Linked DNA regions of Homo sapiens: regions 1, 2, 3, 4, 6 and 7 are each linked to region 5. Evidence: promoter capture Hi-C in 16 types of primary human blood cells and fetal thymus (Javierre and others, 2016). All regions are on one chromosome and are shown on one strand. The core of a region is centred on a gene start or on the middle of the fragment in contact, and the rest is flanking DNA. Distances in the headings are between cores, read along the strand shown.

Region 1 (2,700 bases), core at 153-2,652, 340 kb after region 5:
GTCTTCGTGGACAGATTGCAGGGCTGCAGGGGTCCCAGGCCAGCCTTCCCGGGCTTCTGCCAGCTCCCTGTCTCCCCTTACCATGGGAAGTGGCACCAGCCTGGGAAATGGGTTGAGCTTCCCGGCTGCACCTTCCCACTGATGGCCCACAGTGCTGCTTCTTGGCCGGAGTATCTGAGCTCAGCTCAAACCAATGCTGAGGAAGGGAGGGTGAGTCCCCTGGCTTCTCCAAGGTGCTTGCCTGGGTGCCTCAGTCAGGTGATTTTGACCCAAACTGTTTGAGTGGTGCTCACTGAGACGAGCCCCACTCATCCCCTCCGTGGGCCCTACCCTGTGGTGGGACTTACATGTTAAGCCAGGCTTCACGTCTAGAAACCACCTTCCTGAGAGAAGAGCACATTCCCAATGGGACCCTGGGCTCCAGCCCTGCCCCAGCTTGTTGGACTAACTCTGGTGCCCTGCAGGTCGGCTCCCAGTGGGCCTCCCCGGAGAACCCCTGCCTCATCAATGAGTGTGTCCGAGTGAAGGAGGAGGTCTTTATACAACAAAGGAACGTCTCCTGCCCCCAGCTGGAGGTCCCTGTCTGCCCCTCGGGCTTTCAGCTGAGCTGTAAGACCTCAGCGTGCTGCCCAAGCTGTCGCTGTGGTAAGGCATGCAGGCTGGGGCTGGGCTGGACCGGGCACCACCTTTAAGCCTCTCTTTCCACTTTTGGCTCCTGAATTCTTTGCCTTTTTAGCAACTTAGGGAAATGGATAGGACCGAAATCTTCCCATCTGCTCCTACTGCTTTTATGAGAAAGCAAATTAAATGGGAAAACCATAGGAATTTCCTGAAGATCACTACATGGCAAGACTGGGATTCGGCCCTAGGCTTCTCTGATTTGGAGACCACCTTTGAAATGCTGTGACGTTTCACCCAGGGGAAGGCGTTCAACTTGCCACCCCAACGCTGCCAACAAACAGAAAAATGGCAACAACAACAAAAACTAGTTCTTTCTACCATATCCTGCTCTGAATTTTATTTATTTGTTTGTTTGTTTGTTTGAGGCAGATTCTCACTCTGGAGTGACTGGCGCTATCTCTGGATAGGCTAGAGTGCAGTGGCACTATTTTGGCTCACTGCAACCTTGGCCTCCTGGGTTCAAGCACTTTTCCTGCCTCAGCCTCCAAGTAGCTGGGATTACAGGCGTGCGCCACCACACTCGGCTAATTTTTGTATTTCTAGTAGAGATGTGGTTTTGCTATGTTGGCTGGGCTGGTCTTGAACTCCTGACCTCAAGTGATCTGCCCACCTCGGCCTCCCAGAGTGCTGGGATTACAGGCATGAGCCACTGTGCCTGGCCACTGAATTCTTGAAACTGAAATTTTCAAGAGTAGCGTTTCATTGTTTCATAAACCCAAACATCCTCCCATTCATCCCATCTCTTAAATGTAAATTCACATAAGCAAGCGCTGTCACTTGGAGAACGTACGGGGCTCTTCTCATTGTGGGCTGCATGGGGAAGGGAGGCCGCTGTGGGCTCCAGCAGTAGGACCCCCAGCGCTGGGTTGTGGGGTGGGGGGAAAGGGCCGACCGATACAGGAGGGAGGCCCAGACACGGAGGAGGAGCCCCAAAGAGAGCAGCCTGCTCGCCGGTCTCACCAGGGTGTGTTTTGCCCACTCTCACTCTGCACTTTTCTCTCCCCCAGAGCGCATGGAGGCCTGCATGCTCAATGGCACTGTCATTGGGGTGAGCCGCTGTCCTCTTCTCCAGAGCAAGTGGTGGGGACAGGGAAGGGGGTACTGTGGGAAGGGGAGCAGGCAAGTCATTGTAAAGCAGAAATGAAGGAAACCAGAGAGACCCAACCCCAGCTTTCCACTGCCTGTGGGACGTGCCTGGCATCATGGAGCCCAGGCTAGGACCATCTTCCTGACTCTCCGGGCCTGTCTCACACTCACTTCCTGGCCCCCACCTCAGGCACCTGTGCATTTCTTCTGTGTGCAGAGAAGCACTCTGAAGTCATTGTGCACGTTTTAGTTTGTCCCCTCTGCCACTACCTGGGCTGCCTCTTTGGCATGAAAGTTCTCACTCTTACCATCTTGATACTGGAGGTGGGAGGACGGGAAGGCAGTGGGCCATAGGAGACAGGAGGAGCAGCAGAGCGATGGCTCATGGGAGCTATGGGTGGGTGGGCAGGAGACAGGGTATGAGAGTGAGGTGAGTGGGGGGTTGGGGGATGCTGGGGGGCCTGACCCTGGTGCCTCTGCTTCCAGCCCGGGAAGACTGTGATGATCGATGTGTGCACGACCTGCCGCTGCATGGTGCAGGTGGGGGTCATCTCTGGATTCAAGCTGGAGTGCAGGAAGACCACCTGCAACCCCTGCCCCCTGGTAAGAGAGGCTCAATGGGGACCGAGGGCATGGACTGGACGCGTGTGGGACCCAGGCAGTGGGACCTCACTGCGGTCTTTAAATAAATAAATCTCTCATTATTTTCTGATTATAAACAATAATTGACAATAATAAAGAAGAGACTAAAAATCACCCACCCAAACTGCATGCCTCAGAAATAATTATAATTTTAGTTTTATAAGTTGCAAACATTTTCTTCCTGAGTTTTCAGAATAAACACAGTATTTGCCAGGCTTATGATACTATGTTTACAATTCTGTATCCCTTTATGTATTTTAAGAAACAGCACCACCGTTCTTTGAAAATATT
Region 2 (2,700 bases), core at 173-2,672, 330 kb after region 5:
ATTTAATTTTAAGTTTAAATTTAACTTTATGGCTGAATCCAGAGGGAGACTGAGTCCTGGCTCTGCTTCTTATTAGTGGAGCTCTTTGCTGTGTACCCTGTGCTAATCACAGTTTCTCACTCCTTACAACAGTCCTGCAAGGCAGGCTTGAGTACGCTCATTTTACAGGTGAGGAAACTGAGGCACAGCGGAATGCAGCCTTTGTTAGAGTTCAGGAGTTCCTGACTTCAAAGCCTTGTGCTGTGGGGCTGTGTGTACCTTCGAGAAGGCTGCTCTCTGCCCTGGGCCGTCTCCCATTTGAAAAATCAGAGAACTGCACTCAGGCCTCTAAAGTCACTGCGGGCATCAAGAATGTGATGCTTTCAAGAGTTTTGCTGTCCTCCCCACCGCTCTTCCTACCCTATTGTCTGAAGTCAATTTCAGAAATAAATGGATTTTTTTCCCCAAGCAACAACCCAATTTCTCCTTTGGCTTGAGAAATGACTAGCAGTGCGATCCAAGAACTCTCATTTTTCTTTCTTTGCTTGGTTTTAGCACTGCCAACAGAGAAGGCTGTAGTGAAAATTTCCGCATGTTAGTTTACAAAGCAATGTGGCAACCACCTTTCTGAAAGCCATTAGAACCTCACAACCTCCTTTCAGCCTGCTTTTGTTTGCCTGTGAGGCTCTGTCAGAGGGCTGGGTCAGGGACTGGCCCTTGCCGGAGGCAGGGAGAGCTGACCTCTGTGAATTCTGGGCTTCGTACCTAGAATGTCCTGTGCCCTTTCTGAACCTCGCTTTGCCCTCAGTTCCTGGAAGCCTGGGTCCCGGACCACCAGCCCTGTCAGATCTGCACATGCCTCAGCGGGCGGAAGGTCAACTGCACAACGCAGCCCTGCCCCACGGCCAAAGGTGAGAGTCCTCCCCTCCCTGGTGCCTTCATGGAGGAACAAGGGCCCCTGCAAGGCCCCCCAGCCACCCATCTTCACCTCTGGCAGAGCAGACTCAAACACTGGCACCTAGAGTCCTAGAGTGGGTGGGCTTCCTTGCCCAGCCTGCATTTCCCATCACTGGGCCTGGGAGCCCCATTCTGCACCTGGGGTCGACATTCTCAGATTAACCCTCGCCTCTGGTCCCCAGCAACGGTCAGACTTAAGAGTCCCCTGGAGGGTAAATGTGAGGGTGTCAACAGGAACATGGGGACACTCATCTGTCAGAGGTCCCGTGGCCTGGATCCTTGTGGGATGACCGTACAGAACTCCTACTAGTTTTCAGTGAGCAAGAACATTTCAAATCCCTCTGAGGCTGTCCCACCACTAATTTCTCTGACTTTTGTGGCCGTTCCTCTCCTCTAGCTCCCACGTGTGGCCTGTGTGAAGTAGCCCGCCTCCGCCAGAATGCAGACCAGTGCTGCCCCGAGTATGAGTGTGGTATGTGTCCCACCAGGGGGATGTCTCCAGGGCCCAACCCTAGCCCCAGGGGGCACCACGTTGAAGGTGCTGAAAGGTGTCTCTGTTCTCAGGCACAGGGTGTGTGAAAGGAGGTGGGTAAGGACCGACTGGATACTCCAAAAAAGTGGAAAGGGTTACCTCTGGAGAATAGGATTTGCTTCCTAGAAGAATCTACTGTAAATTACTAAACACAGGTTTGACAGGATTAATACAAGAATGGGGTGATTACTGGGGACTATGGAGATATACTGAAGAAAAGGTCATGCCAAAGCAACCCATTTTCATTTTCAATAAGATTTTGAGGCTGCTAGATATAGAGAAGACCACACACTGGGCACCTTGAGTTCAGCAGGTTGTTTGCTAGAGGTTTTCATGCTAGCCTTGCAGGCTGCTCTGTGAATAGTGGGCTGAATAATGGTATAAGTCCGTGAATTCAGAGCTGATGGAATTACGGTTAGCATGGCAGGAAATCATTAGTGCCTTTGTCCCAGTCCTGTCCAGTGTGTTTATTGCTTGTACAGATGAAGACCTAAAGCACAGGCTTGTACAATTTGCAGTGATGCAGATATTGAAGGGAGAGCAGATAGATCAGGGGACAGTCCAAGGAACTAAAAGAAAATCATATAATCGGAGAAACTTATTTGTACTCATGAAATTGATCAGAAATAAATAGAAGTCCTGTAGGGGAGGGAGATGTGGCTTGAGAACAATTAATGTAAAGGAGGTCTTAGAATGTTAGCAGTAGAGAGAACTAGAGGGATCATTTACTTCAAGCCCCTCATTTTATAGACATTACTAGTCTCCTACAATGTGCCGGGCACTTTGCCCTTATTATTTTGTGAACTCCTCAGACTGATCCTATAAGGTAGAGTTCCCACCTTCCAGAAGAAGAAACAGGTCTAGAGGATCCAAGTTGACTTGGCTGAGATGTGAAAGCCCTAGTGGATGATAAGAATAATCAGTATGTGACTTGGATTGATCTATCTGTCTGTCTGTCTGTCTGTCTATCTATCTATCTATCTATCTATCTATCTATCTATCTATCTATCCATCTATCCATCCATCCTATGTATTTATCATCTGTCCTATCTCTATCTAACCTATGTATCTATTTATCATCTATCCTGTCTCTATCTATCCTATGTATCTATCATCTATCCTATCTCTATCTAAGCTATATATCTATTTATCATCTATCCTCTATCATCTATCTATCTATCTATCTATCTCTATTGTATCTAGTTATCTATCCTATATCTATGTATGTATCT
Region 3 (2,700 bases), core at 145-2,644, 310 kb after region 5:
GTCTTTTATCTACAGGAGTTAATTTTGTTAATCTCCATTTTCCTAGAAATTTATCCATTTCATCTAGATTTTCACATTTATTGTATAGAGGTCTTGAAAGTAGTCTTTTTTTTAAACTAAAATTTTGTTTATTGTTTGTATATACTCTAGGGTACAAGTAAAATTTTCACAGTAATCTTTTATAATATCAAAAATTCTTTTTAAATAGCGATTTTCTTTTGTCATTTGTTAATTTATATACATGTTTATTATCTTTTTTCTTGATCAAATTAACTCATGATTTGTCTTTCTGGATTTTTTTAAAAATCAAGATTTCAATTTATTTATTATGTTTACTGTTTTTATATTCTCTACTTTATGGATTTCTGCTTTTATCCTTGCTATTTTATGACTTCTTTCCTTGAATTTTCTTTTAGTTTACCTTTTGTGCTTTTCTATTTAATTGGAACTGGGAATTTCATTCATTTTCATTGTTTTATTTTTATTGACAGAAATGTTTACTGTTATGAATTTTCCTAGGATCACTTTATATGTATCCCAATGAGTCTGATATGTAGTGTATTTATTATCATTATTTTCTAAAGAAATTCTGTACTATCTGTTTTTATTGTCCCTTTCACCCAGGATTTATATCATAAATTAAAAAAATTTCCAAGTGTAAAGATCTTTTTAAACAATAATTAAAAAATTTTTAATTTTACTATACTCTGACGAGAGTATCTGTAATAGTTCTACTTTGTGGAAGTTACCGTTATTTTCTTCGTGATCTAATACATGATCAGTTTTTGTGAAGGTGTATTCTCTATTATCAGGGTGTAGAGTATGAGATCCCTCGCTCTCTTCCTGTCACCCCTCCATGAGAACTACATATTTTGATTTTAATGTTTGTCTTCTATAGTCTTACTTACCTTTTCCCCATTTTATCTATCTGGTTCTGAAAGGGATGTCTAAAAGTATCCTGTTATTAGTTTGTCTACCAATGTCTCCTTGCTTCTCCTATAGTTTTTGCTCTATGAAGATGTTGTCTGGTGCATAGATATTCACAGCTGTTATGGCTTCATTGTGAATTATACTGTTCAGAATGCTCTTATTAGTCACATTTAATCTTTTTTTTGGCTAGAATTTTACTTTGTCTGATATCAAAATCTCCATCCCTGTTTTCTTATTGTTTGATATCCTTTGTCTGTCCCTTTACTTTAGCCTTTCTGAATTTTAGTTATATAGCAATAGTTGGGTCTTGCCTTTGAGCCGAATTGAAAACCTTTTTGTTTTAGTAGACAAGTTAAGCCCATTCTCATTTATTGCCATCTTGTGTTTGATCTTCTTTCGTCATTATATTTTATAATTGTTTGTTATATATTTTTCATTTATAAATGTGGTGATACGTTAAGGTGTCTAGGAAGGTTTATGCTTTTGTTCCTGTCATTACCTTTGAAGTTATACCTTTCTAAAATGCCTTCAGGCCCATATTTTTAAATTTAAGCATTCATTAATCAGTTTTTCAGTTTTTAATAGCATTCTTTAACTTCTACCTGTGGCTATCCAACAATCAATGAGGTTATTCTAACTTTTCTTGTTCCCTCCCCTCTCCTCCCATTGTCGAGTTCTATTATTTCTACTGTCACAGCATATAACATTTGCACATTAGTCTTCCATTCTTCGTTTTAGTTTTAGATCTATGACTATATAAATAAAAATGCTCACTTTAGTTGTTTTGTTAACATTTCCTAGTCATCTCTTAGTTGGAGGAAATGTTCTCTAGTAGATTTCTTTTTTTTTTTTTTTTTTTTTTTGAGACAGAGTCTCGCTCTGTGGCTCAGGCTGGAGTGCAGAGGCGCGATCTCGGCTCACTGCAAGCTCCGCCTCCCAGGTTCACGCCATTCTCCTGCCTCAGCCTCCCGAGTAGCTGGGACTACAGGCGCCCGCCACCACGCCTGGCTAATTTTTCGTATTTTTTTTTTTGTAGAGACGGGGTTTCACCGTGTTAGCCGGGATGGTCTCCATCACCTGACCTCGTGATCCGCCTGCCTCGGCCTCCCAAAGTTCTGGGATTCCAGGCGTGAGCCACCGCGCCTGGGTCTCTAGTAGATATCTTAAGAAGGGCTTATGTGTACAGAATTCCATTAATTCCTATGTATTTAAAACTGTTTTTCTATAGCATTGATGCTAGAAGGGCACCTTGGCTGAATACAGAATTCTTGATTCACATTTTCTTTCACTAAATTTCTGAAAAATGCTGCTCCATTGTTGCCTTGCTTTGTATATTGCTTTTGAAAATTCTGATACCAATATAATTCTTTTGTCCTTGTAAATTATTTGATCTTTTTGCCTGAAGGCCTGGAAAATTTTTTCTTTATGTTTGAAGTCTAATAGTGTACTGTAATATGTCTCAGAGTTGACTGTTTTGGGTTAATTTTTCCGGACATCTGGCACATGACTCCCATACATAGATTTGGTTCTTTTTTGATTTCCAGAATGTTTTCATGAGTTATATTCTTTAAGTGTTAGTTCTGTTCCATTGTTTTGTTTTCTCTTTTAAGAGTCCATTTTTTCTCCTGTCTTACATTTTCATTACTGTCTCTTTGACCTTTATACTTTCTTCATTAACTCATTTTCATTCTCTTGATTGGTTTTTTTTTGCTTTTCTCTGATGCTCTTTATTAAATTCTTATTTTGATGTCATCTTCCTTGGGTACTTAT
Region 4 (2,700 bases), core at 16-2,515, 270 kb after region 5:
TTAAGTCAGAGCTGACACTGGACGGGGCGATGTGGACATGAACCCTAATTGTGACAGAGGCTTTGAATGCTCTGCTAGAGAGAGGTTTTTCAGCCCTGCCAGCTCCTACCAAGGTGCCATCTTCCCTACTGGGTGCTTAAGCTCATTCCCTCCCAAGAACAGTGGTTCCGGGAGGTAAGAGCTACCAAGAGTGGGGTCAACCTGCATCTTATGCCCTGCACTGTCATCCTGACCCATCAGCTGGGCTTCCAGAGATGCGGGAACACCTCCTGAGGTTGGGTGAAGATGACATTAAGCAGTGGAGGATTCTTCCTATTTCCCTCCCCCCAACCGCCCCAACACACACATGCTCACATACGATTCTAGCCTGGGTCCTTGAAAGCCCTTTGTTCAGCCCAAGATTGCCCTGTTCCCAGGGATTTGTCCAGCTCCAGGCCTGGGAGCTCAGACTTGTCTGGGGAGTGACTGGGTCACGTGGAGCTGGAACTGTTCAGACCAGGAGCTTCTCGCCCTGCAGGGAGCTCTGGAGCCAAGGTGCCACAGTCCTTCACCTGGGGGTGACCCAGGCCTCTTTGAGAACCCCCAAGGCTAGGCCACACCAGGACAGGCACCCAGGGCTGCCCCTTGGAGTCGGGACAGAAGCGTGTCTGCATGTTGAGCTCAGAGTGGGTTTGGCTGACTCTTCTGGGGCTGGTAGTTCTTAGTTCTTTTATTTTCTCAGCCCCAACAGACCGGAGGAATACAACATGCTCACGAAAGTAGTTTCCCGAGGGGTGACGACGGGGAAGTAGAGCATACCCCATGGAGAGTGAACCGGGATACGGGAGACTGGGCAGGAGGGGGCCTGTGGCTTGGACCAGCCCCCAGACTCTAGTTCTGATCGATTTCTACTTATGCCCAATATTTGGCCCTCACCTCCAGAGTGTTAAGTACATATTAATTTTATTCAATATAGTGTTCATTTTCTTTAATTATAAACATAATACATGCTCATTGAAGAACACTTGGAAAAAAATTTTAAAACTGAAAAAGAAAATAAAATCCTCCCACTCGCCTATCCCAGCTCACCACCTGGAGGCAGATTCTGTATTTCCTTCTAGTCTTTTGTGAAATATATATACATTTGGAACCATATGTATATACAGTTTTTCTTCCTGTGTTAAAAATTAACAGCATAAGTATTTCTCACTTCATTTAAGATTCTTCCAAAGGACCATTGTAATAGCACCATAGGATACTGGCGCCTGGTGATTCCTCAATGGATTTAGTCATTTTCCTATTAAGTGTTTCCAATTTTTTTTTGCAATGATAAATAATTCTCCATCAATCTTTGTCCATAATTCTATTTCCCTCAGAGAAATCCTTTCCTTGGGATGGCTAGGTGTAAGAATATGTGCATTTCAAGGCCTCTGGACATGATTTTTTGAAGTACCTTTGCAAAAATGTCCAGGTTACAGTGCCCCAGCAGGGCACGAGAGGGCAGAGGGCAGTCAGTGTCTTTAGTTGACAGGGAGGAGCCATGTAGATGGGAACCCATGTTTGCCAAGCCCTGGCCTGGGCATAGGATCCCTGTCCTGGCTTGGCCTGCAGTGGAAGCTGTCCCCCTGGCTCAGCCCTGGTCCTGGTGCCAGTCCCAGTGCTGGGCTTACCCGTAGGCTCAAGTCTCAGACAACACTTCCTGGAGCGGGCTGGAGGAGGGCTTTAGATCAGTCACTGTGGCCCTGAGGACTTTTGGATTCTTTTCTCTTAGGTCCGGCATGAGAACAGATGTGTGGCCCTGGAAAGGTGTCCCTGCTTCCATCAGGGCAAGGAGTATGCCCCTGGAGAAACAGTGAAGATTGGCTGCAACACTTGGTGAGGCTCAGTGAGGGGCTGCGCCGGGGACCCAGGCCCTGCGGGTGGAGTGAGGGTGCACGCGGCCACAGGACCTTCCGCACTTGCCTCCAGCCCCCTGTGGGAACCTGGTTACTCTCTGCCTTTCCTCCGTGCCTGTGTTTCTCCATCTGTAAAATGGGGAGAATCTTTTTCATCACCTGTGTCCATCCTGCATAGACACTATTCAACAGGTTAGTACAGTAGCCCTTATCCGAAATGCTTGGGACCACAACTGTTTTGGATTTTGGATTATTTTGGACTTTGAAATATTTGCATATACATAATGAGGTGTCTTAGGGATGGGACCTAAATCTAAACATGACATTTATTTATGGTTCATATATACCTTATACACGTTGCCTGAGGGTAAGTTTATACAACATTTTAAATATGTATTTAATGTGTATTTAGTATTTTTAATGTTTGTGCATGAAACAAAGTTTTGTGTACATTGAACCATCAGAAAGTAAAGGTGTCACCCTCTCAGCCACCCATGTGGTGTCATGTTGGTGCTCAAAGTTTTGGGTTTCAGAACATTTTGGACTTCAGAGTTTTGGATTAGGAATGCTCAGCTTGTATTTCTGTTCAGGGAGATGGGCCCCAGGGAAGACAGGGACCTCGCCCCACCAGTCATTGCATTTGGGCCAAGCTGCCAGTGGGCACGGGGTCTGGAGGGTCCTTTCGTTGCAGGCCTTACACTGCCCATGAGCACTTCGTGAGTGTGCTTGCAGTGGCGTGGTTTGAGGTGAGGGTGGCTGGTTGCCTTCTCCCTTTTCCTTGGCCATCCTGCACGTAACCCCTCACCCTGCTCATTCACCCTGCCTT
Region 5 (2,700 bases), core at 1-2,500:
CTCTCTCACATGTGTGCATATTTGGGGTACAAGCTCCTGCACTGGTCTCAAATGGGAACAAGGGTCACAGACAGGTCTCGGGCTTTCTGGATACACCCAGGTGGGAGGGTTCTCCTTGCACCTAGATATAACCCCATCCCCTTCCCCATATAAAGCTTGGGAAAAAGCTGGAGGGAGGCCATGGTGGGTGGGGTGGGCTGGGAGTGGGGGTGGCTGGAGACAGCCCAGTCTGCCACCAGTTTTTGTACAGCCTGTAAGCCTTTACATATTTACATAGTTGAAACAACTGCTGCCCCCCCTGCAAAAAAGCCACCAATATTTTGGGACAAGTAAATATTACATGATATTCAAATTCAGTGTCCATAAACACAGTTTTGTTGGAATCCATCCTCTTCTGCTGGTCTCCTAATAACCTGTGACTGCTTCTTGCTAGTTGGGACAGACGGTGTAGGCCGCGAAGTCTCTAATCTTTACTGTCTGGCCTTTACTGAAAGGCTTGCCCATCTCCTACCTGAACCCTCCTGACCACAGACAGGGAGGTGAGTGGGGCCAGCTGTCCGGCCACTGCCCTTAGAGACCAGCCAAATAGAATTAGAGTTTCTCCAGTTTCGGGCTATATATTTGGTCCTCCCCAGACTCTGGGAATACCACCATGGAGCTGGGGGCCAGGCGTGGGGCTCCATCCCTCCCCCCTAAACCTGGAGGGAGGGCCCGCCCTCGAGTGGGCAGGGCCTGGAAGAGGAGAGGCCTCCTAAGGGGCGGTGGGCTCAAGAAGGCTGCGCAGGTGTTTGTGCCCCGACCGGGTGGGCCTGAGGTCCTGCCTCAGCCCTCCCTTACCTTCCTCCGATTCAGGAGCAGAGGAGGAAACGTTCGCTGTCCCTCCTGCCGCCTCCCAATAGTCCTCCCTCTGAGGGCGCTGTCTCCCTCGCACTGCTCCCTACCCAGGGTCCTGTCTCAGCCCAGCCCCCGGCTCCCCTCCTCCCGCCTTCGGGAGGCCAGGCCTTCCTTCCCCTTCGCCCCGGCTTCCAGGCCCCGGGTCCCGGCCGCCCCGCCCCCGGGCCGCGTAGCCCTCCCGCCGCTCACCTGTGCCCACAGGTGTCACCGCACCCGCTGCCCTGCGCCGCCCTCCCCGCCCGCGGGGCTCCCCGTCGCCGTCGGCTCCCCGGCGATGCCAGCCAGCCCCGATGCCCAGCCTGGGACTGGGATCGAGCGGCCCGCGGGAGCCGGGCAGCGCGGGTCCGGGCGAGGAGGGCGGGGACCGGGCTGGCCCCTCCCTACCGCCAGCACCGCTCGGGGCAGAGGGGCAGAGGGGCGGGGCCCTGGGGACCGAGCAGCCCCCGCCCTCACGCAGCCACCGCCTTCCCCGGAGAGGACAGCTCACGTGGCGGTGCCCTCCTTTCCCCTTTTCGGTCGCACCTGAACTCGACACCCGCCGGCCGAGCGGGAGGGCTGGGACCGCGCGCCCTCCACTCCGGGCCAGACCCCCGCGAGGCGCTGCAGTAATGAGGGCTGAGTAAGGGGCGGGGCGCCGCCGGGGGAGGCGGCGAGGGTGACAACCTGTGGCAGGCACCCCTCTCTCCTGCTGGTCGCGGCGAGTGGCCGGCCGTCCGGTCCTCCCCCTGCCTCGGCCTAGACCCCTAAGCAGGCAGGGAGCCCGCCTGCCAGCTGGAGGGGCAGGGGGCCCCGTCGCTGTGTGGAGTCCAAAGTGTGAGCCTTATCTCTCAGAGGACCGGCTGGCCTGCCTGGTGGAAGGTGATACTGGAAGGCTATCCTGGACTTTGCCTTTGCTCCAGGGATAGGCAGCTGAGGCCTGACCCGCACTTCTCCTATGACCTAAGACTCAGGTGGGGGCACCCTCCCAGTTCACCTGCAAATAAGCCCACTCCCGGCTACACCAGGGTCACCCAGCCCTTGCGGTGGCTGCTAAAATAGATGCTGTGGGGCCAGGCGCGATGGCTCACGCCTGTAATCCCAACACTTTGGGAGGCCGAGGCGGGCGGATCACAAGGTCGGGAGATGGAGACCAGCCTGGCCAATATGGTGAAACCCCGACTCTACTAAAAATACAAAAATTAGCTGGGCATGGTGACGGGCGCCTGTAGTCCCAGCTACTTGGGAGGCTGAGGCGGGAGAATCGCTTGAACCTGGGAGGTGGAGGTTGCAGTGAGCCAAGACAGCACTACTGCACTCCAGCCTGGGCAACAGAGTGAAACTCCATCTCAAAAAAAAAAAAAAAAAAAAAGAAAGAAAAAGAAAAAGATGCTGTGGAAGGACTGACACATGCTGGGCATTGCATGAAAGGACCATACTTTATTTTCTTTATTTTTAAAATTTATTTTTTAAAAAGAAAATAGAGACAATATCTTGCTGTGTGGCCCAGGATGGACTCCAACTCCTGGGTTCAAGCGATCCTCCTGCTTCGGTTTCCCCACCTTTTCACTTCTCCAAATCATGGCACCTCGTCTGACAGAAGCACTGGATATTTGAGATAGAAGTGTCCTGTGGATGTGTGGTCATTATAATCTCACAACCATGAAACCCAAGACCCTGTAGTTGGCAGGTGGCAGGTCTGAGGCTCCCAGCCCCTCACCCTGACTGTGGTCTATTTCCTGCCAATGAACTCAACAGTGATTGATACGGCTCCTTACTTCTTCAGAGCATCCTGAAGTTCAGGAAACACTTTCAGAAGCAGAATCTCCT
Region 6 (2,700 bases), core at 102-2,601, 360 kb after region 5:
GGCCTGGAGGTGGTTGATCTTTAAGATTTTCTCTACCCTTGGGCGTCTGTAAGACTGGACAGGCCATCAGCGTGAAACAAACTCTGGTCTATGAAGTCCGGACTAGCTGGTGGGGCTGGGAGGTAGTTCCCTTCGTTCATCTCTAGTTCAGTTATCAGCTAGCCAGTTTACTGTTGCTATATCTCAATCCTTCAAGCATTTAACTGGTCGGAAGAGTCTACATAGCAGCCCTGTTCATAGGATACAAGCTGTAAAACTGGGACTCCACTTCTGGTCTGTGTTCTGGGTGTGGGGGCTTTATTATACACTGTCTTCTTGTTTCATGGTTCTGCAGATTGTTTCGTCATCTCCATGGAGTCAAGCTCATGGTTTGAAGTGGCTTTGTGAACCAAACACTGTCTCTGACTTTACCCACTCCTCTTTCCTTCCAGCGTGATGAGACGCTCCAGGATGGCTGTGATACTCACTTCTGCAAGGTCAATGAGAGAGGAGAGTACTTCTGGGAGAAGAGGGTCACAGGCTGCCCACCCTTTGATGAACACAAGTGTCTGGCTGAGGGAGTGAGTACTCATTCTGCTTTCCTCTTTACTGTCTCAATCTCTAAGAACAAGATTCTTCTGAATAGTGTGCATCCCAGCTCCGGCATAATTTCTCAGTGTCTGAGGCACATCTCTGGCCTAGTTGAAGAATCAGTGAGATTACGAAATCAAAGCCTACGGAGAGATAAAATTCTCTGCAATATAGGATGTTTTAAAAAAATATTTTCCTTAAGGGAGGCTGAGTGTGTGATTCTTGAATAAAATGTGAGATCAAACTGATTTTTAGTCTCCCTGGGAATGAAGATCCTGATGACTCAACTGGAAGAGAATTCAGAATCATCAAAATTGTTTCAGCCTGGTCAGGTAGGGTGGTCAAGCTGCTCACATTTATGATAGGAAAGCATAGTTTACATCTGGGCACTTAAGCACAGGGCTGTGAGTTCGGAGCTAAAAATTGGCCCGGAGTGACCTGAAAGCTGTCTACTCTGTACTGTTTGTGCCTAACCTGAAATTTTGCTGTTTTCTTAGGGTAAAATTATGAAAATTCCAGGCACCTGCTGTGACACATGTGAGTGCGTTACTAATATCTTGTCCCTTGAAACCCATCAGAGCAAGTCCAGGGGCTCTTTGCAGCTTGCTCCTTGAAACCCATTAGCAAGCCGCATGACTGTTCTTTGGAGTAAGCTTTATTTCAGAAAGATATTTCGTGACCACTGGTCAGTCATTATGTTCAGTCTTGCAGGGAGCAGCCTCCCCTCCTTGGATGTCATCAGACTGCCCTCTTGAACTCCCTTTTAGATCCCATGGAGCAATCTCTTTCCCCTTTTCCTGCAAACTCCCTCCTGTCTCCAGCTTCTTATGTGCCTTTTCCCTCATAGGATCTTTGATTGCTCATAGTCCTATCCTGGGACGATATGTTCCCTCTCTAACCAAAGCTTCTTGAAGACAGGCACCTTGGATCTATGATCCTGACAGAGTAGACTCTCAACACATATCTATTCATGAGTGTGCTAAAGCTATCTCAAAGAGAAAGCGAAGCCACCAGCTGGCTGACAACAGCCCACATGTGCTGTGGGGGCTGGTCTAAGTTTATCACCCCCTCTTCTTCACTCTGAGCTCCTCTTTACCTCGTAGTTATGTCCTACTGATTGGTTCTCATTGCTCACAGCAGCAGCTTTGGAGACGAGACACAAATCTGCACATCAGACAGTGTTCTTCCCATACATGCTTGTGTTTGTGAGCACAAATAACTTTCAGGATCCCAATGCTAATGCCATAATTTCTGAATATAGAATTACTTGCCTGGACTAAGATTTTTTGTTTTAGATTAGGGTATTTCTTTTCTGCCCTGGGTTCACAGGTCCATGCTTGTTTACAGATAGAGAAAGGAAGAGTGAAAACATGAATACTTTCAGTGTTCAATCATTCATTCTTGACAGCCCCTGCAATTGCTGTAACCAAATCTCAGATCGAGGAAGCACTCTGAAAGCATGTCTTTCTATGATTCCCATTTGAATGGTTTAAGAATGTGAAGTCAGGAAACCATCAGAGAAGAAGAATTCTCTCTAGGCACACTGCACGTGGAATTTGATTAGGAGACTGTTACCTACAAAACCACCACAAAGGGTCTTTGTTGGTCAACTCATTCAAGAGGCTTCGAGATCTTTAATAAGGACAATAAGCCAGGCTCAGGGCCTTAAATCCACAGCAACATAGTATAGTATGCTGGTCTAAATGTTTTTTTTTTTTAATTCATCCTCTTAATGTAATTGGCAGGCTTTCCCTTTACAATGAAATTATCTAGAAATTAGGAGGCAGACTAATATGTAGTTAGGGTTGATTTAGATTTCGAGCCATCTAAGGACAGAAAACTCCCAGTGTTCAGACTGGAATGGTGAGCTGGGATTAAATTTTTGAATTCCCAGTGGGCCAAGTAGAGATTCAGATCTGAATGCCACTAACCCCTGTGTGAAAGGAAACCCCCATGTCAGCAACCTGGAGTCAGCAGTACCCGAAGAGAGGCCTTCACAAAGGTGCCTAGGGATCTTCTCGGTCCCCAGAGAGGCAGGGTATGCCCTTACATCACCATGACTTCGCCTTTCCTCTTACCCCAAGGCAGGAATGAAGAGATAGTAATTATACTTATTGACTACTTCATTGC
Region 7 (2,700 bases), core at 140-2,639, 290 kb after region 5:
TGCTACTCCCAAATAATTTGTTCTGCTAGATAAAGCTGGGGTTTTGAATCTTTATTCATCTTTCTACAATGTTTTTGCTCCAATTTTTTCTCTCTTCGTTAGGGCCCAACATATCAAACATGTTTTAAAACTCATGCAATTTACATTCTGTTAGAATATGTACTGTAAAGCATTTATCTTCAACAGAACATGTACAAACACAGGTTAGCGTCTACATTTTAGTAACATTTGTTCTTGGAGACACTTGTAAGAAGGCTTGGATTATAATTAAGTATTCATGTTGCTAAAGATGTAGGTTGAAAAGAAATCAGCTTTGAGTGGTTGTGTGGATGGCCTAGAACAACGAGTATATTTTTTCATATCCTAGGATGGGCTAAAGCTTTGGTTTCTAGAATCAAAGGAAGTCGGCTATGTGTGTGTTTTGAAGGTGGGGGGCATGCTATTTGGGGACAGATGTTAAACAATGACATCTCACTTGGATGTGGAATGGTCCATGGGATCTCAAGTTCAGGTGGAACAGAGGAGATTCTGTGGGAATATGGAAGTCATTGTACACTGTAGGGCTCAGAAGTGTCCACAGGTTCTTCCTGAACCATTTTAATTTCTTCGCTCTTTTCTGCAGCCACTGTGATGTTGTCAACCTCACCTGTGAAGCCTGCCAGGAGCCGGGAGGCCTGGTGGTGCCTCCCACAGATGCCCCGGTGAGCCCCACCACTCTGTATGTGGAGGACATCTCGGAACCGCCGTTGCACGATTTCTACTGCAGCAGGCTACTGGACCTGGTCTTCCTGCTGGATGGCTCCTCCAGGCTGTCCGAGGCTGAGTTTGAAGTGCTGAAGGCCTTTGTGGTGGACATGATGGAGCGGCTGCGCATCTCCCAGAAGTGGGTCCGCGTGGCCGTGGTGGAGTACCACGACGGCTCCCACGCCTACATCGGGCTCAAGGACCGGAAGCGACCGTCAGAGCTGCGGCGCATTGCCAGCCAGGTGAAGTATGCGGGCAGCCAGGTGGCCTCCACCAGCGAGGTCTTGAAATACACACTGTTCCAAATCTTCAGCAAGATCGACCGCCCTGAAGCCTCCCGCATCACCCTGCTCCTGATGGCCAGCCAGGAGCCCCAACGGATGTCCCGGAACTTTGTCCGCTACGTCCAGGGCCTGAAGAAGAAGAAGGTCATTGTGATCCCGGTGGGCATTGGGCCCCATGCCAACCTCAAGCAGATCCGCCTCATCGAGAAGCAGGCCCCTGAGAACAAGGCCTTCGTGCTGAGCAGTGTGGATGAGCTGGAGCAGCAAAGGGACGAGATCGTTAGCTACCTCTGTGACCTTGCCCCTGAAGCCCCTCCTCCTACTCTGCCCCCCGACATGGCACAAGTCACTGTGGGCCCGGGGCTCTTGGGGGTTTCGACCCTGGGGCCCAAGAGGAACTCCATGGTTCTGGATGTGGCGTTCGTCCTGGAAGGATCGGACAAAATTGGTGAAGCCGACTTCAACAGGAGCAAGGAGTTCATGGAGGAGGTGATTCAGCGGATGGATGTGGGCCAGGACAGCATCCACGTCACGGTGCTGCAGTACTCCTACATGGTGACTGTGGAGTACCCCTTCAGCGAGGCACAGTCCAAAGGGGACATCCTGCAGCGGGTGCGAGAGATCCGCTACCAGGGCGGCAACAGGACCAACACTGGGCTGGCCCTGCGGTACCTCTCTGACCACAGCTTCTTGGTCAGCCAGGGTGACCGGGAGCAGGCGCCCAACCTGGTCTACATGGTCACCGGAAATCCTGCCTCTGATGAGATCAAGAGGCTGCCTGGAGACATCCAGGTGGTGCCCATTGGAGTGGGCCCTAATGCCAACGTGCAGGAGCTGGAGAGGATTGGCTGGCCCAATGCCCCTATCCTCATCCAGGACTTTGAGACGCTCCCCCGAGAGGCTCCTGACCTGGTGCTGCAGAGGTGCTGCTCCGGAGAGGGGCTGCAGATCCCCACCCTCTCCCCTGCACCTGGTATGCTGGCACCTTGTGTGCAGGTGGGAGGGCTGGGCGAGGGCTGGCATGGCCTTGGTGCTACATGCATCTGCCAAGATACGACTCGGGTTCTAATCCTGGCTTCCCTGGTCTGTGTGGCCTTGGTTGAAACTTGCCTTCAAAGGGCCTGTGTTTCCTCACCTCCCTGGCAGGGAGACAAACTGTGATCCTTTTTCGGGGGAAGATCTTTTCTTATTGTGTGTGCTTCTATAAATTCAAAGGTAATGGAAGCCTATTGTTAACATTTAAACAATGCCAATAAGGAGTAAAAAAAAAAAAAAAATGCAAGTCTTACTTTATCACACAGCCTCTTCCCCACCCAATTCCACCCTCTGCCTTCAAGGTAACCTCTGTTAAAGGTGGTGATGATAAGCTTCATTTTGACCACACTGGGTGGGTGAAATTATTCCGAGTAGCTGACATTCTTCAGGGCAAGACCAGGATGTCAGGTGTCAGGTAGCAGGTGCAGTCTTCAGACACTGGAGTCAGACTGCCTTAGTTTGAATCTTATCTCTGCTACTTGCTAGCTGGGTAATTTTGGGCAAATACTTAACCTCTTTGTATATCGTCTATACAAAGGATGAGGCAAATACTTAACCTCTTTGTATATCATCTATACAAAGGATACACATCTTTGTGTATCCTCATCTATAAAATGGGGATAATAATAGCACCTAC

Evidence for each region. Contacts are between HindIII fragments. The CHiCAGO score rates a contact against its expected background, and 5 or more counts as called.
Region 1: a fragment that was not itself captured here is called in contact with the fragment with the promoter of PLEKHG6 in region 5 in 2 of 17 cell types (M0 macrophages and M1 macrophages); the score reaches 6.9 in M0 macrophages.
Region 2: a fragment that was not itself captured here is called in contact with the fragment with the promoter of PLEKHG6 in region 5 in 13 of 17 cell types (M0 macrophages, neutrophils, monocytes and 10 more); the score reaches 21.3 in M0 macrophages.
Region 3: a fragment that was not itself captured here is called in contact with the fragment with the promoter of PLEKHG6 in region 5 in 4 of 17 cell types (neutrophils, M0 macrophages, M1 macrophages and 1 more); the score reaches 10.7 in neutrophils.
Region 4: a fragment that was not itself captured here is called in contact with the fragment with the promoter of PLEKHG6 in region 5 in 8 of 17 cell types (M0 macrophages, M1 macrophages, M2 macrophages and 5 more); the score reaches 8.9 in M0 macrophages.
Region 6: a fragment that was not itself captured here is called in contact with the fragment with the promoter of PLEKHG6 in region 5 in 2 of 17 cell types (M0 macrophages and megakaryocytes); the score reaches 6.4 in M0 macrophages.
Region 7: a fragment that was not itself captured here is called in contact with the fragment with the promoter of PLEKHG6 in region 5 in 2 of 17 cell types (M0 macrophages and neutrophils); the score reaches 6.0 in M0 macrophages.

What each region holds. Positions count from the first base shown.
Region 1 is chr12:5,967,156-5,969,855 of GRCh38, reverse strand. It overlaps VWF (von Willebrand factor), which reads left to right. Exons shown (of 52, transcript NM_000552.5): 45 at 465-645; 46 at 1,689-1,729; 47 at 2,254-2,370. Among named protein-coding and RNA genes, the nearest start is that of ANO2, 23 kb to the right of the region's middle. RefSeq lists enhancers at 1-289, 1,562-2,063. The HindIII fragment of the contact is 7,621 bases long and covers 1-2,700 here.
Region 2 is chr12:5,983,753-5,986,452 of GRCh38, reverse strand. VWF (von Willebrand factor) reads left to right here. Exons shown (of 52, transcript NM_000552.5): 39 at 788-890; 40 at 1,334-1,408. Among named protein-coding and RNA genes, the nearest start is that of ANO2, 40 kb to the right of the region's middle. The HindIII fragment of the contact is 7,184 bases long and covers 1-2,700 here.
Region 3 is chr12:5,999,905-6,002,604 of GRCh38, reverse strand. The region is part of intron 34 of VWF (von Willebrand factor); the gene reads left to right. Among named protein-coding and RNA genes, the nearest start is that of SNORA120, 39 kb to the left of the region's middle. The HindIII fragment of the contact is 3,202 bases long and covers 1-2,700 here.
Region 4 is chr12:6,035,542-6,038,241 of GRCh38, reverse strand. It overlaps VWF (von Willebrand factor), which reads left to right. Exons shown (of 52, transcript NM_000552.5): 19 at 1,751-1,854. Among named protein-coding and RNA genes, the nearest start is that of SNORA120, 3.3 kb to the left of the region's middle. The HindIII fragment of the contact is 5,048 bases long and covers 1-2,700 here.
Region 5 is chr12:6,309,232-6,311,931 of GRCh38, reverse strand. It overlaps PLEKHG6 (pleckstrin homology and RhoGEF domain containing G6), which reads right to left and starts at 1,250. Exons shown (of 16, transcript NM_001384598.1): 1 at 1,084-1,250. RefSeq lists a silencer at 1,304-1,353 and an enhancer at 1,716-2,436. The HindIII fragment of the contact is 5,964 bases long and covers 158-2,700 here.
Region 6 is chr12:5,950,251-5,952,950 of GRCh38, reverse strand. VWF (von Willebrand factor) reads left to right here. Exons shown (of 52, transcript NM_000552.5): 49 at 432-560; 50 at 1,068-1,107. Among named protein-coding and RNA genes, the nearest start is that of ANO2, 6.3 kb to the right of the region's middle. The HindIII fragment of the contact is 251 bases long and covers 1,226-1,476 here.
Region 7 is chr12:6,017,666-6,020,365 of GRCh38, reverse strand. VWF (von Willebrand factor) reads left to right here. Exons shown (of 52, transcript NM_000552.5): 28 at 623-2,001. Among named protein-coding and RNA genes, the nearest start is that of SNORA120, 21 kb to the left of the region's middle. RefSeq lists an enhancer at 1,318-1,817. The HindIII fragment of the contact is 2,016 bases long and covers 382-2,397 here.